Linked DNA regions of Homo sapiens: all the other regions are linked to region 3. The links are contacts of gene promoters, found by promoter capture Hi-C in human tissues and cell types (Jung and others, 2019). All regions are on one chromosome and are shown on one strand. Each heading gives the region's core, a stretch centred on a gene start or on the middle of the fragment in contact. The rest is flanking DNA. Distances are from core to core; before and after follow the strand shown. Region 1 has its middle 23 kb from the start of LINC01355. Region 2 overlaps PNRC2 (proline rich nuclear receptor coactivator 2). Region 3 holds the start of ID3 (inhibitor of DNA binding 3).

Evidence for each region. Contacts are between HindIII fragments. The study calls those that stand out against the background at their distance.
Region 1: a contact is called between a fragment that was not itself captured here and the fragment with the promoter of ID3 in region 3, in 3 of the 25 tissues and cell types used here (hippocampus, mesenchymal stem cells and pancreas).
Region 2: a fragment that was not itself captured here is called in contact with the fragment with the promoter of ID3 in region 3 in 1 of the 25 tissues and cell types used here (pancreas).

Annotation. Positions count from the first base shown.
Region 1 is chr1:23,261,596-23,264,295 of GRCh38, forward strand. No RefSeq gene overlaps it. Among named protein-coding and RNA genes, the nearest start is that of LINC01355, 23 kb to the right of the region's middle. RefSeq lists an enhancer at 1,682-2,516. The HindIII fragment of the contact is 3,246 bases long and covers 1-2,700 here.
Region 2 is chr1:23,962,226-23,964,925 of GRCh38, forward strand. PNRC2 (proline rich nuclear receptor coactivator 2) reads left to right here. Exons shown (of 3, transcript NM_017761.4): 3 at 1-1,237. It overlaps SRSF10 (serine and arginine rich splicing factor 10), which reads right to left. Exons shown (of 6, transcript NM_054016.4): 6 at 2,122-2,700. Among named protein-coding and RNA genes, the nearest start is that of PNRC2, 3.7 kb to the left of the region's middle. The HindIII fragment of the contact is 3,642 bases long and covers 1-2,700 here.
Region 3 is chr1:23,558,251-23,560,950 of GRCh38, forward strand. It overlaps ID3 (inhibitor of DNA binding 3), which reads right to left and starts at 1,251. Exons shown (of 3, transcript NM_002167.5): 1 at 877-1,251; 2 at 685-769; 3 at 1-165. The coding sequence starts at 1,176. The coding sequence ends at 710. The region is part of intron 2 of LOC124903876 (a long non-coding RNA gene); the gene reads left to right. RefSeq lists an enhancer at 121-250 and silencers at 1,191-1,450, 1,318-1,564. The HindIII fragment of the contact is 6,582 bases long and covers 1-2,700 here.

The sequences.
Region 1 (2,700 bases), core at 47-2,546, 300 kb before region 3:
CAGGCTAGAGTGCAGTGGCATGATCACTGCTCACTGCAGCCTTGACCTCCTGGGCTCAAGCAATCTTCCCACCTCAGACTCCCAAGTAGCTGGGACTACAGGCACATGCCACCACACTCAGCTAATTTTTGTATTTTTTGTAGAGATGAGGTCTCACTATGTTGCAATGCTAGAGACAGGGTTTTGCCATGTTGCCCAGGCAGGTCTTGAACTCCTGGGCTGAAGCAATATGCTTGCCTTGGCCTCCCAAAGCGCTGGGATTACAGATGTGAGCCACCGTGCCTGGCATCATTTTCAAAACCAGACTTTTTCCTTGGTGATGGTTCTAGCCAAATGTTTTAGCTCCTCAGTGTCATCGTGGTTTCCCGCCATCAGGAAGCTGGTAGTCCTTCTCCCAACTGAAGCGGTCACCACATTTGATTTCCACTATCAGGAAATGAATATATCACTATTTTCATAACAGCTACCATGTATTGAGTGTGTGGTTGTTCTAGGCAGTAGGCTAAGCAGTTTCCATTTTATCACTTAGTTTTCACAAGAATCTTAGGAAATCACCATTAATAAACCAATTTTTCAAATGAAACTGATGCCTAAAGAGGTTTAAAAACTTTGAGTATGTGAGGATGGGGTAGAAGCAAGGATTGTCTTACTCTAGGGTCAGATCTGGGTTTTGTGGGGCCTGAAGCTTAGGCTACTGGGGGGGACCATCTTTAAGAAAATGATAAAAAAGGCCGGGCGCGGTGGCTCACGCCTGTAATCCCAGCACTTTGGGAGGCCGAGGCGGGTGGATCATGAGGTCAGGAGATCGAGACCATCCTGGCTAACATGGTAAAACCCCGTTTCTACTAAAAATACAACAAATTAGCCGAGCGTGGTGGCGGGCGCCTGTAGTCCCAGCTACTCGGGAGGCTGAGGCAGGAGAGTGCGGTGAACCCGGTAGGCGGAGCTTGCAGTGAGCTGAGATCGCGCCACTGCACTCCAGCCTGGGCGACAGAGCGAGACTCTGTATGAATTAAAAAAAAAAAAAAAGAAAAATGATTAAAAATTACAAATACAAATTTTGGCTGTGTGTGGTGACTCATGCCTGTAATCTCAGCACTTTGGCAGGTTCACTTGAGGCTAGGAATTCAAGACCAGTCCGGGCAACACAGTGAGCCCCGACTCTACTTTGGGAGGCCAAGGCAGGCAGATCACGTGGTCAAGAAAGCGAGACTATCCTGGCCAACACGGCGAAACCCCGTCTCTACTAAAAATACAAAAATTAGCTGGGTGTGGTGGCGTGCGCCTGTAGTCCCAGCTACTCGCTTGAACTCAGCAACCAAGGAGAATCGCTTGAACTCAGGAGGCAGAGGTTGCAGTGAGCCGAGATCGCACCATTGCACTCCAGCCTGGTGACAGAGCGAGACTCCGTCTCAAAAAAAAAAAAAAAAAAAATTATCAGACATAGTAGTGGCTCCCGTCTGCAGTCCCAGCTACTTGGGAAGCTTAGGTGGAAGGATCCCTTGAGCCCAGGAATTGGAGGTTGCAATGAGCCATGGTTGAGCCACTGCACTCCAGCCTTGGGGTGACAGAGCAAGACCCCCTCTCTAAAAAAAAAAAAGCCACAAAAATACAAATTTTTATAAGAAAGTGCTGGAGTAAAAGGAGATAATGTGTGACTGAGTGATCTTAACCAATTGCAGTTAAAAAATGTTTTTAACAAATTTTACAAAAAACGTTCACTCTGTGAACACATCATTCATTAGGACCTCCCTCAGCTCTTTGGAAGGAGCTAATAGTGTAAATGAAGGGTTTTGAGGCCACGACTTCATTAGCAACTCAATAAATCCACCTGTGCCTCTGCTGGAGCCGTGGTTTTCCACAAAGAATTGACAGGCCTAAAAGGTCAATAGTGCCTTGGCTGAGAAAGCTTGTGCTCCAGGGAGGAAACCTGAAGAAAGAGGTTGCCAAACTCTTCTTGGGTGGTCATTGATTGCACCCAAATTGCATTTTATGAGACTCTCAGATCCATTATCTCTCTTGGTCTTGGGAAGACAGTAGAGGGAGTTGGGATGGATTGTTCAGCTCTTTGCATTACAAATGTATCCTGGGTGACAGAGAGGGTGTCCTGCAGTTGCTCCCATGCTCCCTGACTCTCTTCTCTCTTCTCATTGTTGTCTCTCTTTAGGCCAGCCCTGTCCAATGCAAAGGCGAGCCCTGGTTCCATGGGTGAGGAAGGGATCTCTGGGTGCTTCCAGGCTGAACCTCTAGTCTGGTAAACATCTGAAAGCAAACACTCCTCTCCCATGAGAATTGGTCTCCTGGAGAGCATGCCTTTCTGAGTGACAAGTTAGTATTCTTCTGTTACCCTGATTTGTATCCTATTTGCTGTTAGATAGCTCTGGTCTTATTATGCAAAAGGTGCCTTTCCCCCGTCTTGCCCTGAATTGTATTACAAAGCTTCCTCAAATTAGGAAACATTAAAAGGTGCCCAGCTCAGCCCAAGCTTCTCCCCTCATCTTGGAGGAGGAAAGGGGAGCTGTTTCAGTTTATGCTGCCATATAAAGGGCTGTTGTTTGTTTAAGTTGCTGTATTCCATCCCTGGCACTGTCTCCAAGCATGATACTATGACGAAGCTTGTTTTTGTTTTGTTTTGTTTTGTTTTTTACAGCTCTTTTCTCTTTTCCTTCCTTCCTTCCTTTTTTTTTTTTTTTTTAACGA
Region 2 (2,700 bases), core at 140-2,639, 400 kb after region 3:
CACAAGGATTCAGAATTAGGTAAACATCTGAAGGTTTAGTATATTAGAAACACCCAAACCAGTAATATGCTAACCTGATGCACTGCTGAAAGAAAATGTGAATTTTTCGTAATAATTGCATTTTAGTGAATTGTACAGTGGGTGGAAAGGGCATTTGGAGCTCATTAGAATGAGACATAGTACACCCCAATGGCCCTGTTTATTAAATGTAGTGGATTAAGTGTCTGTCAACAAATACACCAAAACCATTTTTTATAGAAACAGTATTTAATGGTCACTCAATAGCTTTCAAAATACATTTTTGTATTACAGCACTGCACAAGCTATTCTAATAGTGCTCTGGCCTCATCATTCCTGCAAAGCTTGCTTTGGGGAGTTGGATAATGTGAAAATTTTAAGTACCTAGGGGAGAAAGAGCCATGTAAATATCTGTAATAAACTTGTAGCATATGTAAAGTTTTCTTGGCCTTTATCTTACAAAAATGGAGTATTTTAGTATGAATTTGCTGAATGTAAGACCGTGGACTGTTTTTTATAATATGGCCTAATTTTAAAGGTCCAAAATAACTTGTTTTTAAAGTTTGCCCTTGTGCTAAAGTGCCAGTGTATGTATGTTATACTTGATTTGGTTGTAAACTATATTTCAAAGTAAACCCTAGTGTAATAAGTTTTATAACTAAAAAGGTTTAAGCTGCTAAAACTATTTTTAAGAGATGTGAAATGCAGTATGGGACTATCTTTTTTTCCTCCTCTAAGCCCAAAGATTAACTAGAGTCCCTCCAACCTTATAGATTGTTGGCTTTCACAATCTTATAACCTAGGATACAGGTAGTTTCGAGTATGGTGCCAGTGATGTTTTGTTTTTGTTTGGTCAAGGGGTAGGTGCAACCCAATGGACCACTTATGCAAAAGATGTAAACTCTTGCATAATACATTGATAACATGTTTTGCCAACTTTAAATGCTTAAACATAAGCGAAACCAGTAGCAAGTATGTGGGTCAGCTTAAAAATTTTGATTGTTAATGCCCTATTTTCTAATTTGGCACCTCTTGATGCCTAAGCAGGTAAGCAGATGCCTAAGCTGTATTTCTCCAAATAAATCAAGATGAAGTACTGCCCAAGTTAAATATTGATAGCCTAAAGACAAGTTTATGTAGTACTTAATGTACATGATATGAATGTGAAGCATAAAATTAAATAAAATTTTTCCCCATTGGCTTGGTTTTATTTTAAAAATGGTTTTGATTGCTTAATATTCTTTTTAAAAATGTGTTTTACTTGTCACTGACTTGAAGCTCATAATACACTCACAATATTCCAAACTCTTGGATTTCTCAGACTCCAGAACTATGAACCACTACATTTCTGATCATATATATATACGTATATATAAAAAAGGTCACAACTAAAATGTGATAGGACTGTTGGCTTGAAAAGGGGCAACTAGTTTGCTGACTGATACAGAAGATACTAGGATTTGACAGCTATGCAGTTAAGCAACTACTTAGGATTTCTCTCTCCCAGTAGTGTTAATTAAAAAGCAAAAAAAAGGCCACACATGGAAAACATCGCAAAGCTTTTGAAAGTTAATTCCATGATCTAGGTTCATAGAAAAAAAATTATAAGCAAATTTATCAAGTTGACAAGAACCCTTGTGTTTTAAGTATGTTGACAAATGAAAAGTATATAAGGGGACCCCTCAGAAGAAAAGCATCACAACCACACCTTTCTGATACAGATTCCAAATGATAGGGCATCTTAAAACTAGTTTGAGTAATCCTTAAAATGCTACAACTAGTCCCATGGCAAAGCTGTATTATTTTCATGCAAACTAGTTAACAATTTGGAGTTAAGGCAGAACCAGCATTTGGGTGTTCATTTTGTTTCCAGGGTAATTTCTGTGAACAATGCCAAGGATTGCAGAATTGAACTTCATGTATTGGACAAATCTCAGCCTAGGTGTCTGTTAGTTTTTAAGCTATATATTGAATCTAGTGTATATATTGAATACACTAGATTTTTAGTGACTAATCTAGTAATACACTAGATTTTTGGTTTGACTCAAGCAAAATGAGTAAATGGAAGTGGGAGTGGAAGATTACCTAACTTCATACTTTAGGAAAGGTACTGATAAAAGTTTTGGTTAGCCTATATAGAGAATGGTGATAGGAATTTCCCAAGTCGATGCAATTGCGAGAACCAAAAATAGCTGGTACAGAGAACTTACCATGTAAGGCTGCTGAAGTCAGCCATACTGTGAACCTTAGGTAAATGCTGTAATTTCAATTTGTCTTCTTTTCGATGGCAGTTATACTATGATGGAATCCAGGTCCAAAACCTATCCTTAAGCTTAAAATAAATACTAATAAACTATCCTCTTCCCTAGAACTACAACACAGGAAAAAACCTGAAAGGTTTTGTGTAAGTTTCAGTTTCTAGTATTTTGGTTGCATTCTTGTAGGCAATTTGTAAAGCAAGAGGGACAGAGTGCATCTCTAAAACCTCTTACACAAATTAGGAAAAAGTTGTACCCAGGTGGTTACAAATCTAAGAGCAAAATCTTAAAAAAACCCAAGATTTATTTTTGGCTCCTAGACCAGTTTATTTCACTTTCCAGCATTCAAAGAAATGTGATCTGCAAAAAACTAGATACAAAGGCCTTTTACTTCTTTACAAACTACGGTTAGTTCTCAATGAAT
Region 3 (2,700 bases), core at 1-2,500:
CCACAAGTTCACAGTCCTTCGCTCCTGAGCACCAGGTTTAGTCTCCAGGAAGGGATTTGGTGAAGTCAAGTGGGCAGGGCGAAGTTGGGGCCCATCCCTGCCGTCCGGCTTCCGGCAGGAGAGGTTCCCGGGGTCCCAGGCAGAACGGGCGCCAGCACCTGCGTTCTGGGCGGGGGAGGAAAGAAGACCAAGGAGCAGTCAGTTTCCGCCGAGCGTGCCGAGGCGGGGGCCGTCCGCAGACTGGCCGGCGCCAGGGAGGAAACTTGGTCTGTACCTCCAGCTGATAACTCCGCGCCCCACGCTGCCCCCACCCAGTTGGCGCCAAAGACCACAGGCGGAGCTTGCGCTACCCCTCCTACTTGGAATTGACACTAGCTGGGAGGGGGCTGCCGAAGACAGCTCCCTATACAACATGGAACAGAAAGACTTGTATTTAGTCGGACCCATGTCTACTTTGCCAGACCCTCGGCCACTGCGGGAGGGCAGGGCCCAGGCGCATTTAAGGCTTAAATGCACATCACATGGAAACTGACTCTGCCATTCATTTGATGCAACCATGGGCAAGTCACTTGTCCCTCTCTGGCCTCAGTTTCCCTAAACCGAGTGAGTGGCAATTTTTCAAAACGTCTGCCAACTCCAGGACTTGCCGTTTAAACCTCCCTCTCCAAGAGAGGAGATACTCACCTGGAGGTGTCAGGACACGGCCGAGTCAGTGGCAAAAGCTCCTTTTGTCGTTGGAGATGACAAGTTCCGGAGTGAGCTCGGCTGTCTGATTAGAGGAAAAGAGGGAAGAGTTACGCGAGGCAATCGGGAGCTCCGAGGGTCCCGCAGCATCCTTGCCTGGGTGTTCAGCCCTGTCCCGACTTCGAGGCTTACCTGGATGGGAAGGTGGGGGCCATCAGGGGGTCCAGGGGCTGGCTCGGCCAGGACTACCTGCAGGTCGAGAATGTAGTCGATGACGCGCTGTAGGATTTCCACCTGGCTAAGCTGAGTGCCTCTCGGGACTCCGGGTACCAGTTCCCGCAGGCGGGAGTAGCAGTGGTTCATGTCGTCCAGCAAGCTCAGCGGCTCCTCAGCTGCCGGGCCCTTCCCTCGGCCCCGGGCGATGGCCAGACTGCGTTCCGACAGGCAGCACACCGCCTCGTAGCAGCCGCGCACCGGGCTCAGCGCCTTCATGCTGGGGAGTGAGTCCAGAGGTGCCCCAAAGAGAAAGAAAACCAAAAGAAGTCCCGCTACAGTGACCTGCAACGCGCGCACGCTCGCCGCGGCGGTCACTTATAGAGCCTGCCTGGAAGGCACGCCTCTTTATTCAAAATGGCCCGCCTCGGCCCTGCCCCCGCCGGCCCTGGGCGTTCACAGCCCGCTTAAATTGCAAACAGGCTTCCTCCGGCTGGTCTGACGCCGAAGACCGCGGAGCCGCGGATTCAAAGAATGAGGAAGCGCTGATACCGGGGAGAGGCGGGCCTCTCCGCCAGCAAGGATTTAAAAATCACTCAAAACCATTAACTTCCAGAATTTGCTTTTTCCTGGCAGCACCCCAGATCTTTGAGCTTCCCTGCCCCCTGCCAGTCCGCCTTTAGCCCAACACTGGTTCGAGCCACAGCTCCTCCGAGGTCATAAATCCCTGAACAGCAAAGAAGCTCCCCCCACCCCCCGTTTTTTTTAAGCGAAAGATTTTTCAAGGGAAACTTGTAAGGAATTAGTGCCGCCTTGTTCCCCAATTTGCTGTTCGTCTGACCTCCAGACTCACTGGCGTCAGGAATTATCTTGTGACCAGAGGGAAAAAAAATTAATTGCGGTGAAGCTGAGGTTACAATGAAGAAAACAGATTTGCGCTAGGCGCTGAGATTGCAGAAGGAGGAGGGAAAGGGGGTTTGAGCAAAGAACACTATTTATTTGAGCAACAGGGGAAAAGAAGAAAGCTTGAGCCCATGCTTTTTGCATGGGGAAAAAAGGAGCCTGGACCCTCTGCCCCATAAACTCCATAACGAACTAAATATATGCACAGTTGTGCTTTGTGAGTTCAATTAGAATTTTGGACAAGGTTTTAAATATGGAGGCACAGATGGGACAATTTCTACATAAACCTTTTTAAGAGCCCCCCCCCACCCAATTGGGTCAGCAAATTTCTTAACTTCCCCTCTCTTCACTTTCCACACACCTCTGTGTAGAAAACAGTGGTAATTTCATTGCTCTATTGTCTGTCCCTTTCTGCTATGGAAGGGCAGGCCACCTGGACTTGATTATTCTTAGCCCTGCTGAAGTAGCTCCAGCTCCATCTGAAAGACCAGGAAAGGAACCAGAGGGCCGGCAAACTAAGTCCTGTATTGCAACAGGACACTGTGCTCAGTATTCTTTGATTCTTTGCTTGCCTTCTTGTCACCTCCCTAGACATTTGGGGACCTGCACTTCCAAGATGCTGCTTTCCATTTTGGAAATGACCAAGTGGGATTCCCCCAATAGTTGCTTTCCTAATGAATCATTGGTGAATATTTATGGAGTCCCTCCGCATAAAACAGTGGCTCCTGCTTTCAAGAATCTCACAATTTGGGGAGACAAGATTAACACAGGAAACAAGAGTTCGATAATGTGTGGCACTGATTAACAGGACAAGGGGGGCTCAGAGCCAAAGAGAGTCGCAAAACGGTTGAAAAGGACACTGACTGGGAATTGAGAGCCCTGGGTTCATCATGCTAGCCC